Linked DNA regions of Homo sapiens: all the other regions are linked to region 3. Evidence: promoter capture Hi-C in 16 types of primary human blood cells and fetal thymus (Javierre and others, 2016). All regions are on one chromosome and are shown on one strand. Each heading gives the region's core, a stretch centred on a gene start or on the middle of the fragment in contact. The rest is flanking DNA. Distances are from core to core; before and after follow the strand shown.

What was found. Contacts are between HindIII fragments. The CHiCAGO score rates a contact against its expected background, and 5 or more counts as called.
Region 1: a fragment that was not itself captured here is called in contact with the fragment with the promoter of TMEM119 in region 3 in 7 of 17 cell types (naive B cells, total CD8 T cells, total B cells and 4 more); the score reaches 7.2 in naive B cells.
Region 2: a contact is called between a fragment that was not itself captured here and the fragment with the promoter of TMEM119 in region 3, in 2 of 17 cell types (total B cells and naive CD4 T cells). The highest score is 5.3, in total B cells.
Region 4: a contact is called between a fragment that was not itself captured here and the fragment with the promoter of TMEM119 in region 3, in 1 of 17 cell types (total B cells). The highest score is 5.7, in total B cells.

Annotation. Positions count from the first base shown.
Region 1 is chr12:108,811,142-108,816,814 of GRCh38, forward strand. It overlaps SSH1 (slingshot protein phosphatase 1), which reads right to left. Exons shown (of 15, transcript NM_018984.4): 6 at 119-187. LOC101929204 (a long non-coding RNA gene) reads left to right here. Exons shown (of 4, transcript XR_945329.3): 2 at 157-375; 3 at 671-1,319; 4 at 3,225-5,204. Among named protein-coding and RNA genes, the nearest start is that of MIR619, 23 kb to the right of the region's middle. RefSeq lists an enhancer at 3,050-3,653. The HindIII fragment of the contact is 9,269 bases long and covers 1-5,673 here.
Region 2 is chr12:108,826,711-108,832,234 of GRCh38, forward strand. The region is part of intron 2 of SSH1 (slingshot protein phosphatase 1); the gene reads right to left. Among named protein-coding and RNA genes, the nearest start is that of MIR619, 7.5 kb to the right of the region's middle. RefSeq lists enhancers at 950-1,521, 4,973-5,082. The HindIII fragment of the contact is 6,047 bases long and covers 394-5,524 here.
Region 3 is chr12:108,594,709-108,600,159 of GRCh38, forward strand. It overlaps TMEM119 (transmembrane protein 119), which reads right to left and starts at 3,376. Exons shown (of 2, transcript NM_181724.3): 1 at 3,262-3,376. The HindIII fragment of the contact is 3,678 bases long and covers 224-3,901 here.
Region 4 is chr12:108,787,405-108,793,616 of GRCh38, forward strand. It overlaps SSH1 (slingshot protein phosphatase 1), which reads right to left. Exons shown (of 15, transcript NM_018984.4): 14 at 4,882-5,425; 15 at 1-1,840. The coding sequence ends at 584. Among named protein-coding and RNA genes, the nearest start is that of MIR619, 46 kb to the right of the region's middle. RefSeq lists an enhancer at 4,760-5,260. The HindIII fragment of the contact is 8,442 bases long and covers 1-6,212 here.

The DNA of each region.
Region 1 (5,673 bases), core at 825-3,324, 220 kb after region 3:
GACACTCCCGCCACACGTGTCATTCAGTGCTAATGATCATCCAAGGATGCCTGAACCAGCTCGTGTTTTCAATGCCTACTACATACAGTGAGAGAATCTTTTAAAGAGACCTCCTTACCCATCTCCATCAAGGTGGATTTTCGTGTCGCTCCACAGTCGGAGAACCATCCCAATGGTGCAGCTTTTACTGCGATGGGGGAGAGAAGACATGTGGAGTCAGCGTCTACCCACCTACGTGTACAGCCTTTCCAGCTCACCACCTGGTCCAGGACGGGCTGTTGGACGTACGTGTGGGAGTAGGCTGTCTGCATAGGAACCGTTCACTGATGAATTCTAGAAGACACAGGTCTGGGATGGCCCTGTGGACACAACTCCGTAAGTGCTCAGCTGAGGCTTTTGGGTGCAGTGTGGGCTGACCGCACGCCCACTCTACAGCAGGGAGGCAGCTGCCCAGGGCTGGTGCTCTGCTGGCGGAGGCCACATGTGTACTTGGGGGTACATAGGCAAGCACCGGCAGCCAAGCCCGGCCTGGCCTGTCCTGGGTGGCGGCAGGGGGAGCGTGCTCACACCGTTCCCGGAGCTCACTTTCAGACCTGTGCACCTGCGCCTTTAGTGTGGCTGCGGTTTTACAATCTCGCTTAATCTGGTTTTGTTTTGCCCATCCTACCAGTGAAATGAGACCGAATGACTGCAGAGACTGGCGCCACTGAAAAACAGAGGGAAAGAAAGGGCTTATCGGAGAGTCCTCAGATTATGATGAAAATTCTTCAGGCATTTAAAAGTCGACTTGTGAGAAGCCGCTGTAACCGTGCCAAGAGCCAGCTCTGTGGACCTCAGGAATCTCATGCTTCCATCTCTGCTGCTGCCAACACCACGGTCATGTTTTATGTGTGCCCGTGTGAATGGGGCCTCTGGGGATCACAGACCCAGCTCCCCTCCCAGGTAGCGCCCTGCCCCATGCAGGACTCTTCTCAACCCCATGCTTCTATATCTGTGGGGAAGGTTGTTCCAAGCCCTTCCGGCCAATGACACTCAGGCTTTTGGGTTGGGCAAATTCTCAGGTCCCTCCGTGCCATCCTACCCACTCTGGAGGGACTAACTAGTATTTCTCTTATAGCACTGAAAAATAAAATTTATTTTGGGCCTCACAGAGCTCTAGGGACCACGTGGCTGTGTCAGCCCCAGGAGGAGGCAAGGAAAGGGTCCCTATGGAGCCCAAATCCGACAGGCAGAAGCCAGGTCAGATGGTGCCCTGAGAACGTGCAGTCTAGAAGACCCAACCTGAGCCCTGACAACCCTCACCAGGAACTCATAAGGAGGTGGGTACAGCACAGAGAGCTGCAGAGAGCACAGGACGGGGGCAGGGCCAAGGCCAGGCCTAGGCCAGGGGCGGGGCCTTCCAGGGCAGGCGGAGGTCAAGGGGGCAGGGATGAGACTGCCCATGGGAAATAAGGGGCACATAAAACCATGTGGAACCTAAGCCCCTAGGCCGGCCTCCCTTGGACAGAGATGCGCAAGAGGCTCAGCCCACAGGGGACTTCTGCTCACGGCCTTCAACTAGAGCCAGGAGCATGGAACAGGGACCATACAGGACTGCAACAACTGCACGCATCTCCTATCATCCCCTAGCTGTTACTTTTGTGAGTTTCCAGCAGTCCTACAATGATTAACAATAAGATTTCTACAAGGAAGGAAGACCCATGGGAAGCATATTTTTCTTTTCTTTTTTTTTTTTTTTTGAGCCAGAGTCTTGCTCCGTTGCCCAGGCTGGAATACAGTGGTGTAATCACAGCTCACTGCAGCCTCGACCTCCAGGGCCTAATCAATCCTCCCACCTCAGCCTCCTGAGTAGCTAGGACCACAGGCACATGCCACTATGCCCAGCTTTTTAAAAAAAACTTTTTTGTACAGATAAGGCCCCACTATATTGCCCAGGCTGGTCTTAAACTCCTGGGCTCAAGCAGTCCTCTTGTCTCCACCTGGGGAGCATACATGGGAAGCAGGAAAGGGATACATAGTAAGGGAAGCTGAATCTTTTTAGAGGAAGAGTGACCCCAAAGGATAAAGTGGGTGGGAGCAATTGCAGAAGAAGAAAGCAGGCTCCAAGTTCCTAGGGCCTGTATGGCGGGAACAGAGAAGCCAGATGGGTCTGGAGGTCCAGGCAGGAGACCAGCCTGTTCCAAGACCCCATCGTGGAGTCCTTCACCAATGGCAAAACACTGATGTGTGGATGGTGGTGTACACTCATGGCATTCAAAATGTTCCCAATCCGAATCGAAAACATAATCCTGCTCGGGTGTGGTGGCTCATACCTGTAATCCCAGCACTTTGGGAGGTGGAGACAAGAGGACTGCTTGAGCCCAGGAGTTTGAGACCAGCCTGGGCAATAGTGATTTTTTTAAAAATTATATATAAAAAAAAATTAGCTGGGAATGGTGGCATGTGCCTGTGGCCTCGGCTACTCAGGGGGCTGAGGTAGGAGAAATGATTGATTCTGGGAGGTTGAGGCTGCAATGAGCCTTGATTTCACCACTCCAGCCTGGGTGACAGAGCGAGATCCTGTCTCCAAATTAAAAAAAAAAAAAAAAAAGGAAGGAAAGGGAAGGGGAGGGGAGGGGAGGGGAGGGGAAGGGAAGGGAAGGGGAAGGGAAGGTGAAAGGGAAGGGAAGCGAAGGGGAAGGGGATAGGGAAAACAGGAAAAGAAAGAAGAGAAGAGAATAGAATCCACGATTGAACCCTAAGGTGGCATGGCTGCTCTGGTCTTCCCAGGATGCGTATGCAGATATAAGACTCTGAGTGAGGCCGGGTACAGTGGCTCACGCCTGTAATCCCAGCACTATGGGAGGCCGAGGAGGGTGGATCACTTGAGGTCAGTAGTTCGAGACCAGCCTGGCTAACATGGTGAAACCCTGTCTCTACTAAAAATACAAAAACTTTCCAGGCATGGTGGTGCATGCCTGTAATCCCAGCTACTCAGGAGACTGAGGCAGGAGAATCGCTTGAACGCGGGAGGCAGAGGTTGCAGTGAGCCAAGATCGTGCCACTACACTCCAGCCTGGGTGATAGAGTGAGACCCCATCTTAAAAACAAAAACAAAAACTTTGAGAGTGCGCAAGCCTGCTGCAGGAGCCGCCATTCCAATGCTGCCTTCTGGAGAAGCGTTGGACTCTTATGAAGATGCCCTTTGGGGGTAATGCTTGTCTCTTCCTTTTTTTTTTTGGCAGGGGGAATAAAAAAATAAAATCCCAAGGAAGGAATTTAGAAAAAACAAGTACATTGCTCCCTCAGCAGGCCAAAGGCTTCTGGCGGGGACCTGGACTTTTTTTCAAGCCAGGAAGGAAGACAACAGCCTGGTGCCCGGGCAATGTGGGAGCTGCAGGAGAAGGCCCAGTTCCCAGCCCCCGGGATTCCCTGGGCACAGAAGGCAGCTGTGTCAGGCCCAGCGACAGGAAAGACTGCTTAGTTCCGGTTCCCATCAGGCCCCTGCTCATCTTGGGTGGCCTCTCAACCGCCCTCTCCAACCTCAGAGACCTGCCCTGGCCTTGGGGTCGGTGCCCACAGGTGGGCCGTGGCTCCTGCTCAGAGGGTGCAGAGACTCGAACTTGAGGGAAGAGCATGCAGGAGAGGCGAGGGAACCACAGGGAGAGGGACCTGGGAGAACTGAAGTCGGGGTGCCGAGGGGAGGCAAAGGGAGGAGAGGGTGGGAAGGAAGAGCGCCATGGGGGCGGTGCGGACGAGCGCACGGGCCAGTCTCCTCCAGCCAGGCAGCAGCGGAGTGGGATGCGCATGTGGGCATCTAAGGCATGCCCGTGACTGCTGGCCTGTGAGCTCTGTGAGACTGTAGGTGTGTCTGCCGTGCTCCCTGATGTGGCCCCAGCACCTGGCGGGGCGCCCGGCACAGGGAAAGAGCTAGCAAGTCCATACATGATAAACCTAGGAGTGAATGAATGAGCAAGGTGGTGTACAGGAAGAGAGCTGCAGCCTGCTGGGAAAGAATGAGTGGCATCTACTCATTCAGCAGGTCGACAGGAAAAGCCCTGCCTCCAAGTCCCAGCCCGGCCACTAACCGGGATGACCCTGGGGTAATCACTGCAGCCTCGTGAGCTTCTGACTGTCATGTGTAAAATCTGAGGTAGCACTACCCACCCCAGGGGGATGAAGGGGTTAAATGAGATGTTCACAGAGGCATTTTGTAGGTGTGCTGTACTCTACAGTCAGGAGGACTGGGCTTCCACACTGCTCCCACGGTTAGGATCAAGACATTGGGCACAGGCCATGGGAGGCCGATTTCCGTTCGGGATCAGAAAGCATTATTGGAACAGGCCACACTTGCGAGGGAAGTCCCTGCCTCAGAAAGATTCAGAAAAGCTAGACAGTCACTGGAAGAACAATTACAACCGCAAGACGGTCAAACACTAAACACCGCTATGCCTCAGAACCGTACAGATAATGGCCAAATAGATGGGGCTCTGGGCATTTCTGAGAGCACCTGCCTGGTGGCACCCCATCCTAATGGACCATGCCCTCCAGTCTCCAAGTGGCTCTTCAGAGCTCACATCCGAACACCTCCTATGCTACAGGTTCTTCTAGCCCCAGGTTCCCAACCACCCCAAGGCCACAGAGGCCAGCCCCAACTCCATCTTCTACATGTGTCACAGGAAACTTTCTCATAGTGCTATTTATTATGTACTGCGGGGGTGGGGGCCATGTCATAAAAGAAATGTCCTCCCTTTTTTATTCATCTCCTTCTAACAAGCATCAAAGTCTCAGTCGCTAGCATGTGACTTACAGAAGCTCTCATGGGAACAAGACAAGACCATACTGTTACCGTGACACTCACGGCCTCCCTGACTGGTTTCTGCTGTTGATTCTGCCTCAAATGCTCCTCAAATGCACCTTGCTGCTCCGCCTCCACCCTAGAGCTCGCCTGACTGCCCACTTGCCCGTTAAGAGTCGGCTTAGGCTTCACTCCTGCCAGAAAGGTCCTGCCAGGTGCTCTCAACAGTCACCCCCTCCTGTGGTCTCACAAAACCCCAGCACCTCTCGGTCACTCTCTCCCTCCTATCTGGTTGTGACTGTCTTCCATGCTCACTTAGAAGCTCTCTGAGGCCAAGAACTGTGTGTACTGTTGCTTCTTTGTTTACCTGGGCCTAGCCCATTGCCTCATACACAGGAGAATGCAAATAAATCATATGCTTAATGAATGAGTCGATGAATGAATGATGAATAAAGGGAATCTAATCTAGTTTTAACAAATCCAGGTTTTGCAATGATCTCACAGGCATTCATTTATCTTGTGATGTCAGGGGAGTGACTCCACCCTCATTTCACACGCATCTTGGGGTCAATGCTCTAACTTACTTGGCCTCCAGTTAGTGGGAAATTACAAGCTACACTTCAAGCCTCTGACTAGGACCTGCCATGAAGTACTTGGGAATCAGTGGAGTATCACTGTGGGGTGAGGTGTCTGAGGCGAGGCCCACCAATCTCCATACTTCTCCCCGGGCCCCTCTGCCTGAGAGGGTCTCCCTGCTTCCCTTGGCAGACTCTGGTTTGGCCTTCTGGGTTCGGCGTTGTTGTCACCTCCTTCAGGAAGCATTTCTGGCTAAGGTGCCCCACTCTATAGCAGCTGGTGTAAAACCTCTCTAAGCAAACAGCATAACTTTCTGTCCT
Region 2 (5,524 bases), core at 2,167-4,666, 230 kb after region 3:
CAGCTTCTGATGCCCAGAGGCACAGGCTCCCGATTCATCAGACCCTCAAAGTGTCCCACTGGGGAAGTCCATGAAGAAATCCACATTGGTGATGGCACGCTCACTTTACCAGGTGTCTGGGGCCAGGAAGCCCAAACCCACAAGCCATCCATCCCAGCCACCCAGAAGTCACTCTTCTCACAAAAGATCTGAGTGTCCTAAAAGGAGTGACTAAAGTTACAAAAGGTCAGACGCAGACAGACAAAACGGAAATGTCTTCCTCCACCGCTGTAAGAAAAATCTTGATGAGGGATAAAAAAAAAAAAAGCCGCTGCCCTCTCTACCCGCCAACTGGAATGTTTTTATCTCCACCACACAGATCTGTTCTCGGACACTGATTACTGCCATTCGGGAAGCTTCATAAGATTAAAGTTTCTCCAAAGCATTGAAGACAGACAAAAAACCTCAATCAATGCTCCTCAAAAAACCCCAGGCCCCCAAAATATAAACAGCCAGTGTCATCCAGAAACCAAGCCATGGCAGGAAACCAGTAATCAGGGTGGTCATACGTACTAATTTGAGCTGGAAACCTCTGGACAGCAGAAGCAGTGGGTTGGCTGAAGGAAGATGCAGAAGTCGGTAAAATAAAAGAGGTTCGTGGCTGCAGTGCTCACATCTCTAACGCTCCCTACAACTGCCCTCCGAGCTCTGGCCATCTGCTCCCTATGGAGATCAGGAAAAGCCAGGAGGCTGCCGAGTGCTTCCACGAGGGCTGGGGAGCCAACTCCTCCTCAGAGTCCTACCCGAAAAGCAAATGGCTCTTGTGGAACTCTTGTCTTCCTCTGATATTTTGGCTGAAAAAGGCCCTTGTCCCAGCACATCCTGATGAAAGAGGGCCATTCAGCAAAACAGCTGAGGTTCCTCTAATCACTGCACTCCTACGGGCTTTTCTGTAGGCCGGAGAAACAAGCACCGGGGTGTGCATTCGACATTGTGAGGGCAAACAACTGGCCCCAAGGAACCAACCCCAAGCAACAAGACCCCCTTCCGATTCAAATCAACATTCTGAAGGATGACTCTTTCTTTCAAATCAGCATCCATTTACCCAACGGTGACGGTGACGTGGGCAGCTGCCGCAGTTAGTTATTCTGCGTACTCAAAGCACGGTTACATCCTGAAAATTCTTCAGTCATGCTAACAGCTATCTGAGGGGACACGCCAGGTAGAGGGGACCACATGCACACCTATGAGGAGCTCTGGGATACGCACGGTGCCCAAGGCAGGTCAGGCTGCAAAGGTCCTAAAGGTTGGAGGTGTGATCCCAAACCCTCCAGGCACAAGCCAGCCAAGAGCTGTGTTTTTAGCGTTTCTTTCAGTGAGAGAAATAAGTTCAGGATGTGAATAACCATGACGCAGGAGAGAATGGAATAAGTACCCTAAGAAAGGGGCTCGGCTAGGGTTTACAAGAGGGAGGAGGGAGCATTTAACTGGTGACTTCTGGAACAATTCCTGAAGGAAGCAGCACTGAGTAGGGGCTTCTCTTCCCTCGGCTCACAAGTGACCAAGCGATCCTCCCTACGGATTAAGTGAAACACACATTACCATGATTCTGGTTTTGCAGGTGAGGAAACCCCAGCTTGCCTAGGAGCACATATCTCTACAAGATGGGGCTGGACTCACATCTATCTGCCCCACGCCCACCTGCTTAACCCCTGTTAAGCAGCTGTTCTACTCATCCAGAATGAAAATCAGAGCCATTATGCTGCGGTCACATCCGCTCATGCCTGCCCAGGTGCCTAATGGCAAAGCCACTAAGGCACTGAGAAGTCAGAATGTGGATCACATCTTCCGTCCTTCTTCCCAGTGTGTGAATGCATCATGCGTGGGAAAGAGAGAGAAGGAACCATTCAAGCAAACAGAACTCCAGGAAGACGAGACTGTGCCGGGGTTCTTCCATCTGCCCAAGTAGAAATCAGAAGGGCAGGGGACCCACAGCCTTATCCTACCCACCACTGCCGTCATAGTTGGGGGACAGGACACATCCTTTGGCCCTTCTGCACTGCATAGAGGCTAAGGAGTTCTGTAAACCACACAGCCACGCTGACCAAGAAGTCGCTTTCAAGGTAAGTTTCTCATCAACAGGACTATTATTTACTGAGGATCTCCCATGTGGCCAAGGCTGTAGGAGGTACTTAGCTACGCCACGTCATTGAACTCTGGCAGTTCTGCAGGGTAAGGTATTTTCTCCATATGACAAACGAAGGAAGCCCGTCAACAATTCCAAAATAGAATCACCAGGGATAGCATGGACAACGCCCATGGTGACTGCCGCGCTTTAAGGTTTAAGAAAAGTAAAAACTGGGGGTGATGACTCATTCCTGTAATCCCAGCACTTTGGGAGGCTGAGATGGGTGGATCATTTGAGGTCAGGAGTTCGAGACTAGCATGGTCAACATGGCAAAACCCTGTCTCTACTAAAAATACAAAAATTAGCCAGGTGTGGTGGTGCATGCCTGTAATCCCAGCTACTCAGGAGGCTGAGGCAGAGAATCACTTGAACCCAGGAGGCGGAGGTTGCAGTGAGCCAAGATCGCACCACTGTACTCCAGCCTGGGCGACAAAGTGAGACACTGTCTTGGGCAGGGGCGGTGGGGAACAAAAGTAAAAACAATGGTCTGGGAATTCATATTTCTGGGTTCCAATTTACATTCTACCATATATACTCTGATTAACCCCTAGAATTAACCCCTAGAATTCCTTACAGGGTTCTGTTCATTCATCCAAACAGGCAAACATTTGCAGAGCATGGAGCACAGGGTAAGCCAAGCCAGCCCAAGCTCTGATAAGGGCAAAGACAGCCATCCTCTTTAAGGAATGGGTATATGTGCTGGTGATCTGGGTGTCTGCCCTGCTGCATAGAAACAGCATTTCTTGAAGAACAAAAATAGTAGGTATAGAAACATCACAGTATGGAATATCCAAACACCCCTGAATTCCAACTCTGGTCATACATTGAAACAACCTATCAAACTCCTAAAACACATTCATGCCCAGGTCCAGCCTCAGCAGAGTCTAATTCGGAAGGTCTGTGATGAGTCCTGGGCATCTACTTTTTTAAAAAGTTCCAGGGAGCTGGGCATGGTAGCTCATGCCTGTAATCACAGCACTTTGGGAGGTCAAAGTGGGAGAATCAGTTGACCCCTGGAGTTCAAGATTAACCTGGGCAACGTAACAAGATCCCATCTCTACAAAAAAATAAAAATAAAATTAGCTAGGCTTGGTGGTGTGTGCCTGTAGTCCCAGCTGCTCAGGAGGCTGAGGTGGGAGAATCACTTGAGCCTGGTGAGGTCAAGGCTACAGTGAGCTGTGACCACACCACTGCACTCCAACCTGGGAGACAGATCTTGTCTCCAGAAAGTTCCAGGGGGTGCTTCTGATGCACAGCCAAGTTTTAAAAACCTCAGAATCAAATAACATCATGGCCAGGCATGGTGGCTCACGCCTGTAATCCTGGCACTTTGGGAGGCCAAGGTGGGTGGATCACTTGAGGTCAGGAGTTCAAGACCAGCCTGGAAAACATGGTGAAACCCAGTCTTTACTAAAAATACAAAAATTAGCTGAGCGTGGTGACGCACACTTGTAGTCCCAGCTTCTTGGGAAGCTGAGGCACGAGAATCACTTGTACCCTGGAGGTCGAGGCTGCACTGAGTGGAGATTGTGATCCTGGAGTCCCCACTGCACTCCAGCCTGGATGAGAGTGAGACTGTCTCAAAAACAAACACACAAACAAACAACATCAGAAGACACAGAGAAAACAGTCTTCTCCATGGGCTTCATAAAGATACCTCTCACATAGGTACACGTCGATGTTTTCTGCTGGTAAAAGGTAACACCAACAAAAAGGCATGGTGCTCTCAGAAGGTGGGTGATGTGATTAGGTGCAATAAAGGGAGGTCATGCTAGGGTCAAAAACAAAATAATACTCTCTTTGGAAGCAGTAAAACAGATGCTAGTCTTCTACTACACACTTTCAGAGACCTGAATGTTCTTCTGGCCCTCTAAGGGAGACGCTGCATCATGACAATACGAAATGATGACAGTGAAAGCAAAAACAGATCAGACCTGTGCTGTGTGAAACAGACATGGGGTCTCGCTATGTTGCCCAGGCTGGTCTCCAACTCCTGAGCTCAAGCGATTGTTCCGCCTTGGCCTCCCAAAGTGCTGGGGTGACAGCTGTGAGCCACCGAGACCAACCTCAGATCAGACCTTTGACAAACTCTGCTGTGGACAAAGCATTCTGGTGAATGTCAACTCATCTGATCTTCACAAAACCGTGTGGAAGACCAGACAGGCATTATTACACTAATTTATGCCTAAGGAAACAGGGAGTTAAATAGTACAAATTTAGGATTTCTGATGCTGTATCTCGAAAAAAAAGTAGAGAATATGAGCCTGAAGAAGAGGCCCTGTAAAGGGTCCCAGATTGATGGGACAGGCTGAGACAAACGGAATCACTTTTCCCTGGATAGAACTAACCCTCAATGGTACCCCACTCTGCATGGTGATTACTGAGGGGACTGTCAATTGTCCAGCGAACTTGATGGTAATTCTAGGAGAAAAAGGAACTAATGTAATGCTGTCAGCATAGAAAGATGGGTGCCAACGAGCATTCCAAAAAGGAGGCTCTGTTAATTCGGTTTCGATCAACAAGTATTTGCTGAGTGTCTATTGTGTCCGGTCAGTGCTAAGGCCTGAGAATTTAGAAGTGAAACAGACCCGGTTTCCACCCATGCCACAGACCACTCCACACCTGGTCTGGAGTGACACTGGAGGGCCAGGCAGGCACAGGACAGTAACTTCGATATAAGGCAGCAAGTTCCACGGTGGAAGGAGGTGGAAGGTGCAGATGCACGTACACACAGGGGTTCAGGGAGGCCTCCCTGGAAGAAATGAAGCCTGCGAGGCCCTGAAGGATCAGTAAACAGAGAGGCATAAGGGGCAGGAGAGTAAGATGATTATGCTACATGTACCTTATTGTGAACCCAGGAGGATTTGGCCTCTGTCATAAAAGGCCCCCCTGTGGGTTCATAAACCTCAATTTACAAATTGTGCTTTATATATCAGTTCCTTATAAGTTTGGTTAGCGTAAATTGGTTTCTTAGAACTTGATCATCCCTGAGTGAACTCACAAATTCAAGTTTCAGAATGTGCAAACCTAAGAAACAAACCTCATGCTTGTGGTTGAGACATCGCACTGTCAACATCACAAATTCTCAGCACCTGAATGCCTGGTATACTATCAACATATATTGTTTTAAATATGTAAATAATAGCTTTCTAGTTATAGAGAGTTTGTCCCTACATTTTTCCACTTAATTTTTACAATCCCATTCCCCTGATGAAACAACCCCAGCCTGGGCAACATGGCAAAATCCTGCCTCTACAAAAAATACAAAAATTAGCTGGGTGTGGTGGCGTGCACCTGCAGTCCCGGGTATTTGGGAGGCTGAAGTGGGAGAATCACTTGAGCCCGGGAGGCAGAGGT
Region 3 (5,451 bases), core at 2,126-4,625:
AGGCCGGAGGATTGATTGAGGGCAGGAGTTTGAGCAACATAGTAAGACCCCACCTCTACAAAAAAATAAAAAAGTAGCCAGGCCTGGTGGTGTATGCCTGTAGTCCCAGCTACTTGGGAGGATCGCTTGAGCCCAGGAGTTCAAGACCAGCCTGGGCAACATAAGGAAACCTCCATCTCTATGAAATATATTAAAATATTTCAATTTTTTAAAAAAGAGACAAAGCTTCTCAGGGGCTCATTTTAAATGAGCTGGTCACCTGTGCTTTCCTCGCGGGTACTCATCTAAGCCCTTTTCATGCCTTTAATCCTACAGGAGCCCTGAGGCAGCTTCATTATCCCCATTTTACAGATGAGGAAACAGAGGTTCAGAGACAGACAGTGACTTCCCCAAGGACACACAGATGATAAGTAGCTGAGCTGGGATCTGAACCTTCCTCTGTCTGATCCCAGGAGTTTACACGCACATTCACACAAACCACACTCACACTCATACACAGCCATACATACACATGCACACTCACCACACACACAACCATTCATACACGCCACACACTCACACACACATCCCCATACACACCCCACACATAATCATGCACACACGCCACACACACACACACCCATATACACACATGCACAGACTACACAATCATACACACATGCACACACACCACACACAACCATGCACACACATACCACACACACACTCACACACCCATATACACACATGCACATACTACACACACAATCATCTACACACATGCACACACACCCCACACACAAACATGCACACACGCCACACATACCCATATACACCCCACACACAACCACGTACACACATGCCCCACACACACCCCTATACACACATTCACATACTACACACAATCATACACACATGCACACACCACACATATATGCATACACTCCACATACACACAACCATACACATACACCACACACACTCACCTACACAACCACACACACATGCACACACCACACACTCTGAGCCAGGAATGGCTTGTTCCCGCTGGTGGACATCACCTGTCAGATGCTAAATGAGGAAAGGACCCCCTCACCTCTCTGGCACCTGTTAGCAAAGGTTCCTACAGACAACCTTGAGCTTTGGGGTCTGTGACCTGCCAGTCACCTCCCTGCCTCCCACCCCCAGTCAAGCCTAGGAGAGAGCTTTTGTGGCAACAACTACCACTTCTCACTGCAGAGGGCAGCTGGGACCATGGGTGGCTGGAGACCCACTCAAGTTCTGGCTGGGTCAAGAATCCCGGCTCCATCGCATCCAGCTCTGTGGTCTGGCTCCTGTGGGCCTCACTTTCCCCATCCGTAAGTTGGGACAGGGTGACCACAGGTAGCACCTCTCAGAGCTGTTAGGGCCAAATGAGACAACTTTCAGAGAGTGCCTGGTGCGAAGTAGCTGAGCCCCGAGGAAAGATAGGGTCTGGGGTAGCTGAATTCCTTCCCTAGCCGAACTCCAGGTTCAGCCAGCAATTTCCCACCCTGAGTCGACAAATGAGCACCATCGCCGGATGGGAACATGCGCTCACTGTCTGGTCCGGCCGCCACCCAGTGAAAGACCAACCTTTTCACCCCGTTCAGTGAAACCTCTTTAGCTCTGGCCGCCAAGGAATGCAGAACCAAACACACACATGCACACACATACACATACACACACATGCACACATACACCTACACACACATATACATACAACACACACACACACACACACACGAAGTCAGAGGCAGAGGGCAAGAAAGGAGAACACACAAACTGCCACTGGCTCTTTAAGGCTGAGACCCTGACTCTCAGAGTCCCCTGCACCCCACAACCCCTCCTGGCTTCCAGGGAAAGGTGGGGGCAACGTATGGAGGACCCAGCCCCACCTGCAGTCAGCAGAGCCTCAAAAAAGATGGTTGTGTGGCCCTGGACGGCCCCTGCCCTCTCTGGGCCTCAGTTTCCCATCTGTGGAATGAAGCACTGTTCTGGGCAGCTCTGAAGTCATTATTCTGCCTACCTCCCCCCGGACCCTAATTTTTTCAAGGACTCAGAATCTAACAGGCCATTAGGAGCTGGGGTCAGGCCCAACGCCTCTTGCTTCACCTTAGAGGTAACTCAGGTCCAGAGACTGGAAACAGCCTGCCCAGGTCACACAGAAAGTCAGGGGTGAGCCCAGCAGAGCCCTGGACAGAGAAGCCTGTCTTGGTATATCCCAGAGGAGGTCACTTCCCGGCTATGTGTCCTTGGGCTGGGCATGTCACCTCTCTGAGCCTCGGTTTCCATATCTGTACAATGGGGATAAGAGCCACCTCCCTGGACTGCTGTTAGGACAAGATGCGGCCATGCCTGGTGCACAGTGGGTGCCAATTAGCAGGTACCACGTGATTGCCCAGGACTCCCTGCCTGGGGACATGTCAGGCAGGGCTGGCCGTGTGTAAGTGTGGCAAATGCCCTAAGATGGTCCTGAGTCTGTGGAGGAGTGCAGATGCACCCCTGAGGCCTGGGGGCCCCAAGACTTGAAGCTAGGGGACCGGGGGCTGCCCCACCCCCACCCAGAGACTGGTGGCCTTTGGGGGAGGGGCGGCCCACGGAAACCTGGCTTCAATCAGTGGCCTTGTGGGGGAGGGGTGTTCTGGTTGGAGCACTGCACATGCCCCCGACCCCAGGGCCAGCCAAGGACAGGGACCTGGGCCCTGGAGGTCTGGATGGGGAGGGGGGTCCTGGGGGCACAATCCCCCTCCACACACACACACACACACAGAGCAGCATGGACACACAATATAAAGACACACAACACAGGCACACCGACTCACACAGCACTGAGACACCCAACAGCACTCTCATGGCCCATGCACACAATACACAGAGAACACACACGGACACACAACACATATACATACACAACCCCCTGACACACAGCCGATCCCTGCACACAGGACAATACCGTCCACATCACCCTCACACAGATCCTGGAAGCAACAGCCTGGCATCCACTTGCAGAAAAGTGGAAGCAACACACCCCCTACACCAAGGCCCCAGCCGCACACACACAACACTCCGGCCCACCCTGGCCCACCCCAGCACCGCACACGGGACTCAGATTCCACCACACTCATGCACACAACACCAAACACACACTCAAAGCCCACACACACTTAGAGAGGCCCCCCAGAGTGCTCCAACAGTCCCCAGTCCCTAAGCTCCAAGATAGCTCCAGGCTCTCAGGACAGAGGAGGGGACCCCAGGACTCACCAGTTCCTTGGCGTACAGGACTGGGTGCTCCCGCCGAATGGAGCGAGAGTGGGGGGCACCTGGGCTGGAAGAGAGAGTCCGTGCTGGTGCCCGGGGCTGCTCTGGGCTGGCGCCTGCCCGCCCTCCCTCCTCCCGTCCCTCCTCCCGTCCCTCCTCCTTCCTCCCTCCCCGGCTGGGCCGCAGGGCCAGCTTGATTTCATTAAGAGGGTTTGGGGTGGGGACAGGGGGAGGGGAGGGGCTACTCTCGGGCCACACGCAATCCCACCCTTGCTCACACTCTCGCTCTGGGGAAGACCAGATGCGGCACTTCCTCCCTGACCTCGGGTCCCCAGGGCAGGCTGAGACAGACAGACAAGGCTGTCCTGCAGCGCTCCCCCAGACAGTGAGCTGGGGTTCTGCCCACGCTGCTGCCCAATACCCTCCAAAGGGGACAAGCTCAGGGAGGTTCAGAGGCCTCTGGAAGTGGGAAGGAAAATTCCCCGTCCTTGTGTGGCTCAGGCTTCCAGGCTCAGGGTGCAGCGTGGGAGCTGGGATTCGTTTTAGAGACAGGCCTGATGGTGGGTCCGAGCCTGAGACAGGGAGCCCAACTCTGCCCTTCCCTCTCCAGACCTCAGTTTCCCATTTGTAGGGATGGGTGGGAAGCTTTCTGGGCTACCTCTGACTCTGATGTTCTGGGATCTGTGGCCTCACAATGCCCCCAAATGATAGTAGCTTGAATAGGAGTTGGAGCCCCATTTCACAGAGGGGGAAAGTGAGGCAGGGTGAGTTCTAATGGTTCAAGCAGGGTCCTGAGGTGAGTCAGTGGCAGGCCTTGGAACCGGGACGTCTGGCTGACCTGAGGAGTCCTGTGGATTAGCAGCCCCTTGCATTCATTCATTCATTCATTCATTCATGCATTCATTCGGCAAGTGCTCAATGAACACCTGCAGCAGGCCACGCACTGTGCTAAGCAAGTTCCAGAGGTGAATCAGGCACAGCCCAGCCTTGGGGAGCTCACAGACTACCAGGGAGAAGGACACCGAGGTAAATTACTTTTTTGCCAAACAGAAAGGGGTCAGGTCAAGGGCTCCGAGAACCCCAAGACAGAGAGATCAATCCCCCAAGGGAAAGAGGTAGGAAGCCATCCTGGAGGGCATGCCTGTGTATGAGCAGAAGCGGGCAAAGCAGGCCCTGGAAAGGCATTCCGCATGGAAGGACCAGCGTGGGTAAAGGTATGGTGGCTGGGAATGCCACCACGCACAAGCCACCGCAATTAGATTAGGCTGGAGCATGGACCAAAGAGAGGATCATGTAGTAAGGGTCAGAGATGTTGACAGGAGCCAGGCTAAAGTCTCGGAAGGTCGGAGGCAGTACGGAGCCAGTGAGGGTTTGGAACAGGGGAGTGCATGAAGGATGAGTGCGTGCTCTCTGGGTAGGAACCAAGCCTAGATTATCATTGTTCCCTGCAATGGTCCCAGCAGCCCTCGCTCACCCCCAGAAAACTGGGACAGTCATTTGCTTGGGAAATAAAATCAGAGACTTTCCCATCTTCTCTGGAAATCACCCCAAACCCTGCATCTTCGAGGGAACAGGGGACCATCCACCAATACTCGCACAGACACATTCATGCACACACATGTCCCAGGGGCAAGTGGCCACCCACAGACATGTTGTAGCAGCTGTGCCCGCTTTAAGGTGGCCAGGGGTGTTCCAGGCCTACCTGACCTGTCTTAGACCAGACATCGGGTGGTCAGGGGCAGCCAAACCTCCCCCAGGGCCCACCAGCAGGGGAAGAAGACCTTACCCAACATTCTGAGGGCTGCAGTCTGGGGACCTTGGGATGTCGAGGAGCAGGGACACAACCAACCCAAATAGAGCCTGCTCCCTGCACAGGTGGCCCCAGAGGCCCAGCCTGAGGGAAGCTCTCGGAGTCCCCTTCCCCTCGTTCTTTGCTTCTCCCTCCTGGGCAGAGCATCCCCCTGAAGGAGGGGTAGTAAGTGTTGGAGACATTGGCAGGAGCTGGGCTAAAGTATTGGAAGGTCACCTAGGAGGCAGTAGGGAGTCAATGAGGGTTTGGAGGGTTTGTTCTGGGATCTGTGGCCTCACAATGCCCCCAATGATAGTAGCTTGAATAGGCGTTGGAGCCCCATTTCACAGAGGGGGAAAGTGAGGCAGGTGAGTTCTAATGGTTCAAGCAGGGATCTGAGGTGA
Region 4 (6,212 bases), core at 1,926-4,425, 190 kb after region 3:
GTTAAAAGTCTTGACACGTCTGGGGTCCCAACCAAAACACAAAACGAAAAATTCTTTTTTTGGAAAAACGCTTTCAGACAGAGCATTATTCCCTGGAACAAGCCTTGGTCATTCGTGTGTTTTAAAAATAAAAAGCGCAGCGAGAACAGAGGTAGGACTTAATGTTGCCATCCGAGAGTTTTCTGCGAGGCCAAGAATGAGCTAGAACGTGTGCCGCGGTGAGGCTGCCACCACCAGGACTCTTCTGCAGGATGCGAAGGGAACAGTCTGGATGTGTGCGCCTATGTGTGCACGTTCTTCCTAAAACATGGTTCTTCTTGAAGACACGGTGGGAGCGGAGTTTTGTGTCTCCTGGCCGGCGGCTCCTGGTTCTCCCAGGCCACACGACTGACAGCTCCCCTTCTTGTGCTGCATGTTGGTTAGTTTCTTCTCCTCCTCTCTATGGCAAGAGTAGGGGAAAAGTTAGGATGACTTCACTCGTTTAAGGGAAATCAAGATGTAAGGGGTCGATCCAAATCCACAGTGAAAGTGAGGGAGGGATCATATGAAAATATCCGCCCAGCCTGACGCAGCAAAAGGCGGGTCAGCTTTTGCTCATCCACGAAGGGCTCTTTAAGTTTTCTGGGGCGGGTTTCCCTGATGGTTTGGAGGTTGCAGCTGGGTCCCTCGGGGTTCCCTGGGGCTCATGCAAGAAGGAAGATTCACTCAAAGTGGTGTCCTGGGAGTCAGCGACGGTGGACGGGTCAGCCTCACTGGACAGGTCTTCCGTTGAGAAGGTGAGACTCCCCAGCTTGGCAAGAGAGTGTGAGCGCTTCAGTGGGGAAGAGACGGTGAGGCCCGCCAGCCGGAGCCGGGTCTCAATCTCCTGTGTCCGCTGCTTCACCAGCCCGGGCTTCCCACGGACACTGTGGATGCTATCGCTGCTGGAGCTCCGGGTCAGGTTGGAGCTCATGGAAGAGGAGGTGGGGGTGTAGCAGATGGTCTTCAGAAAGTCTTTTGAGAAACTACTGGTGTGGTCCAGGCGGTAGAAGAAAGGAGGGGGGCTCTTCAGTGAGCCTCCTTCCAATGAAGCGGGGGCGGCCTCTGACTTCTCATCACTCCCGGCCTGGCTGGGCATAACCAGGGGGCCCAGCTCGTGGAGCGCGGCTGGATCCTGGCTCTCCTCGGGGATGCTGGCCTCCAGCCTGCTGGCAGGGCCATCCCTGGAGGGAGGTGCTGGGTCTGCAGGCACGCTCTTCAGCCGCTCTAGCTCTTTGGTGTGCTTGCGGACCAAGCCTGCCTTCTGCAGCTGAATGATGGACTCCTGGTGCTGCATCAGGTAGCTGTTGGTTGTCGGCTTCTCAGATTCATTACTGAACAGAAGCCTCAGGTCCTTGGCTGGCTTCATATCTTTCTTGGGTGACGATTCTTCCTTTATTACCACTTCTGTGCTGGGAGGGTTCTTATCACAGTGAGAATTCTTCAAAAGGAGGGACTTTGGCAGGACTTTTGGGGTCTCTCTGGAAGGTTCCAAAAGGCTGGCTGGTGGCTCTAGGGCAGCTCCAGCCCCAGGGCCACTGGTGTCTGCCCTCCTGGAGCCTGCTGGTGGTAGGAACGGGGGAGGTTCGGTTGGGCCAGAGGCTGGCTTCTCCGGAACACGGGACCTGCTGGCCAAGTGGGCCACAGGGGAGGACGTGATGTGGGGTAGGAAGGCTGGCTGGGTGCAGATGGCGGGAGCATTGGGGTCCTCACATCGCTCCCTGGAGGCCTCAGGAGCCCCGCTGGCTGTAGGGTACATGCAGTCGGCACAGGATTTATAGGAAGGCTTCACTTTGTTAAGGATCCCAAATATAGCATCATCCTGCAAGGAAGGGGACAAGAGCATGGTGAGACGGTGCAGTCATGAGCCAAAGACCAAAAACATGAGGGTGGGCAGGGAAAGGGGTGCGAGGCCGGACTGGGGGCCAGGCCTGGAGGGGAGGCTCTCATTTCACTTAATACTGACAGACAGACCTCCTGGAGCCCACTTGATCGAGAATAACCACTGGCCTGAGGTGGATTTTATACCCCAATAGAAAACAAGTTTACATTGTTTCCTAAGGAAACCCTCCTGCCTTTTGGTCAGTGAGGATCTAAGTGAACGTGACACATGCCTCTGTGTCCCCACCCTTCACTTCCTTACAGGCCAACTGACAGGTACCCAGTGGTCCTGGGAATGGACTAGAAAGCTGTGTGAAGAGTCCCAGGGGAGAGAGGGACAAGTTCTAAGTCTCCGCGGAGGGAAGGCTTCCCAGAGGAACTGACACTTCAGCTGAGGCTTCTGGGACAAGCAGGTGTTGACCAGCCAGAGAGAGCAGCATGCAGGTCCAGAAGCAAAGCAGGAAGGAGGAGGGCACCCCCCTACCCCACCCCGCCTGCACAGGACTGTAGGCTGGAGGGCAGGACAAGGCAGGAGGGCAACAGGGCTCTGTCTCTCTCTCTTTCAAACAGATAAGAGACAAGGTCCTACTATGTTGCCCAGGCTGGTCTCGAACTCCTGGGCTCAAGTGTTCCTCCTGCCTCGGCCTCCCAAAGTGCTAGGATTACAGGTGTGAGCGACTACACCCCGCCAGCTCTGTCTCTCAACACCTCCTTATGTCCTTGCCCCATCCTCTGAGCCACTGTGATCCCAGCATCCCAACTTCCCCTCTTACCCCAGCAGCCTGCCTGTAGACCACAGCCAGAGGGGGCTCATCACCCACCTGCTTAAAGGCCCCGCCATGGCTTCCAGTTTTTTTTTTTTTTTAAATGAAGTTTCGCTCTTGTTGCCCAGGGTGGAGTGCAATTGCGTGATCTTGTCTCACTGCAACCTCTGCCTCCCAGGTTCAAGCAATTCTCCTGCCTCAGCCTCCTGAGTAGCTGGGATTACAGGCATGCACCACCACAGCCAGCTAATTTAATATTTTTAGTAGAGATGTGGTTTCACCATGTTGGTCAGACTGGTCTCAAACTCCTGACCTCAGATGATCTGCCCGCCTCAGCCTCTCAAAGTGCTGGGATTACAGGCGTGCGGCACCATGCCCAGCTAATTTTGTATTTTTAGTAGAGACAGGGTTTCACCATGTTGGTCATGCTGGTCTCAAACTCCTGACCTCAGATGATCTGCCTGCCTTGGCCTCCAAAAGTGCTGGGATTATAAGCGTGAGCCACTGCACCTGGCCCAGGGTTTTATCTCATCTGTCTTTATGGGTATTTGCTTTGTGGTAGGCAGGGAAGTGGGGGAAATCCATAATTAGTATTTGATTTGGAATGCTTTATGGAGGTCGACAGATGCAACTGCCCAGTTTTGTTTGCATTATAACATGCTGTTAATAATAATAAACTGGCTGTATACTTGAATGCATCTGTCAGGACCCCAAGTGCCCCCACTTGAGAACCACGGCTGTCCTGTGAGATGGGCAGGTGAAGCCAGAGGCAACAAAGTCAGCAGCAGGGCAAGGGTGGAAGTGGAGACCAGGCTGCACGGCCACCCTTCCACTGAACCAGCCTCTGCTCCTGCATCACTTCCCCCATGGAGGAGGGAAAAGGTTGGCTGGAATTAACCAATTTCTCAGTAAGCACCAGGTTGAAGCTCAAACCTTGTGGCAGATAATCCACTAAAAATGGCAACTCCAAGAGACTAATGGAGTTAAGTATTAGAGTCTAAGTTGGAAGGCTGGATACTTGACAACGTTGGGAAATTACTATCAGTTTTGTTTTTGTTTTTAGACGGAGTCTCGCTCTGTCACCCAGGCTGGAGTGCAGTGGCACGAACTTGACTCACTGCAACCTCTGCCTCCTGGGTTCAAGCAATTCTCGTGCCTCAGCCTCCTGAGTAGCTGGGATTACAGGCATGCACCATCACACCCAGCTAATTTTTATATTTTTAGTAGAGACAGGGTTTCACCATGTTGGTCAGGATAGTTTCCATCTCCTGACCTCCTGATCTGCCTGCCTCGGCTTCCCAAAATGCTGGGATTACAGATGTGAGCTACCGCGTCTGGCCCTATCAGTTTTTTTAAAAGGTGACAATGGTATTGTGGCTATGTTAACATACTGGAGCATTTATGAATAAAATGATATATCTGAGGCCAAGCGTGGTGACTCAAACCTGTAATTCCAGCACTTTGGGAAGCCAAGGTGGGCAGATGGCTTGAGACCAGGCTGGGCAACAGTAAGACCTCATCTCTACAAAAAAATAGAAAAGATTAACCGGGTGTGGTAGCATGCGCCTGTGGTCCCAGCTACTCAGGAGGCTGAGGTAGGAGGATCACTTGAGCCTGGGAGGTCAAGGCTGCAGTGAACCGTGATCATGCCACTGTACTCCAGCATGGGAAACAGTGAGAACTTGTCTATAGTATGTATCTATCTATATCTACAGTATATACCTATAATATATATTTTTTAGATACAGGTATCTATATCTAAATCTGGGATTGGTTCCAGGATCATCAGGGGTGTGGGGAAGTGGGTGGTAGGGGTGAGATGAAAAAGAATAGTCATATATCGATAAAGGCTGAAGTTGGCTGATAAATTATATGTTTTAATTTTACATACACAAAAAGAAATTGAGTTGGAAGCCCTGCCCAGGGTATGAATAAGGTACATGGGGTGAAGATGGTGTGCAGAGATATGTGTTATTCCCAACAGATTCTCAATTTGCTATATAAGGTATGCACTACGTACCCACCAGCAGAATCACCCTGTGAAAGAACCCTCAGGTCCCTGGAGATGGGAGCTGGGGGCCCAGAGGAGACAATAGAAAAAAATCAGCTGGGTGTGGTGGCGGGTGCCTGTAGTCCCTACTACAGAGGCTGAGGTAGGCCAATTAGAGTGGGATGGAAGGGATGGGGTGTGCCACCCTGCAGGCCGGGCTCTGCCTACCTCCATGCCGTTGGGACAGCTCCTCTTGCTGTTGTTGTTTAGGTTCTCCGAGTTGAGCAGGTTTTGATCGAGCTGGGTTGGAAGCTGCCCCCACCTCCCTGCTCCCAGGCCCTCCTCCCTTTCCGTCTCCTCCACCTGCAGCAAGGAGCCGCTCCGACCTTTGGGACTCCCAAACTCTAGTTTCTTCTTCACATCCTTCTCACAGAGTCCGGAACCTTGCTGGGGCTGTCTGGCCGGCCTGTGCACCTCTGCAGGTGGAGCAGCTTCCTCCAACAGAGCCTCCCTCTCCGGATCCTCCAGGTGGACCAAGCTGCCAGTTTCATCCTCAGGGGAAGGCAGAAGGGGGTCTGAGAGTCGCCGGAAACAGCAGGGGAGGGGGGGCCCTAAGCCGGGCTGGGCGGCATCATCCAAGAAGGGCAGCTGGCTTTCCGGGGTGCCATCTGGGGTCTCTGGCAAGAAGTCGCCAGGTCCTGCAGGGTCATCCACAGGCTGCTGGAGGCTGCTGTCTGTCTGCTGACGCCACAGCTTGTTGTGCCGCTGTTTGCTGCGGGGAGAGAGGGTAGAGGAAGGTGAGGGGAGGAGGATGGTGCCTGGGGGTGCTGGGAAGAGTATGCGGTGAGCCAGTGAGGGGCTGCCCAAGGTCAGGGCGCCAGGGACGATCCATGGCTCATTCAGGTAAAGCCTCTCTCTGTTCATTTGTTCCCAAGAAACACAAGGATGAGAAACAGCACTGGCTCCTAAGTTGTCCAGGCTCGCACAGGAAGCCTGATGTGACTTTCTGCCTCTGATGACAACGGGGAAGGAACGCGGGGGCGTCTAGACTTCAATCTGTGTATCTGTGTTTAGTGATGCCTCATTGTCACGTCAGTTACACTCCATCTCTCATTTCTCTGTCAAATAAGAATAACAACGCTCTCCTACCTATATTGTAGGGAAATGAAGGGAATCAAAGTGGAGTATGTACAGATCTATACACGATAATACAACTATACACACACATAACGCACTGCAATGCATTTGGGAAGATCCTGGAAAACTAGAAAGTATTTGTTTAGGTTTAGGTCAGTTTTTAAACAATTTCTTCTACTATGATGACATTGTTTTTATAATCCCTTTTTTTTTTTTTTTTGAGATGAGGGTCTCACTCTGTGGTCCAGGCAGTGCAGTGGTGTGATCACGGTTCACAGCAGCCTCAAACTCCTGGGCTCAAGCAGTCCTCCCACTTCACCCTCCCAAGTGGGGCTACAGGCATGTGACACCATCCCTGGCTAATTTTTAAATTATTTTTTTTGTAGTGACAGGGTCTTGCTATGTTGCCCAAGCTGGTCTTG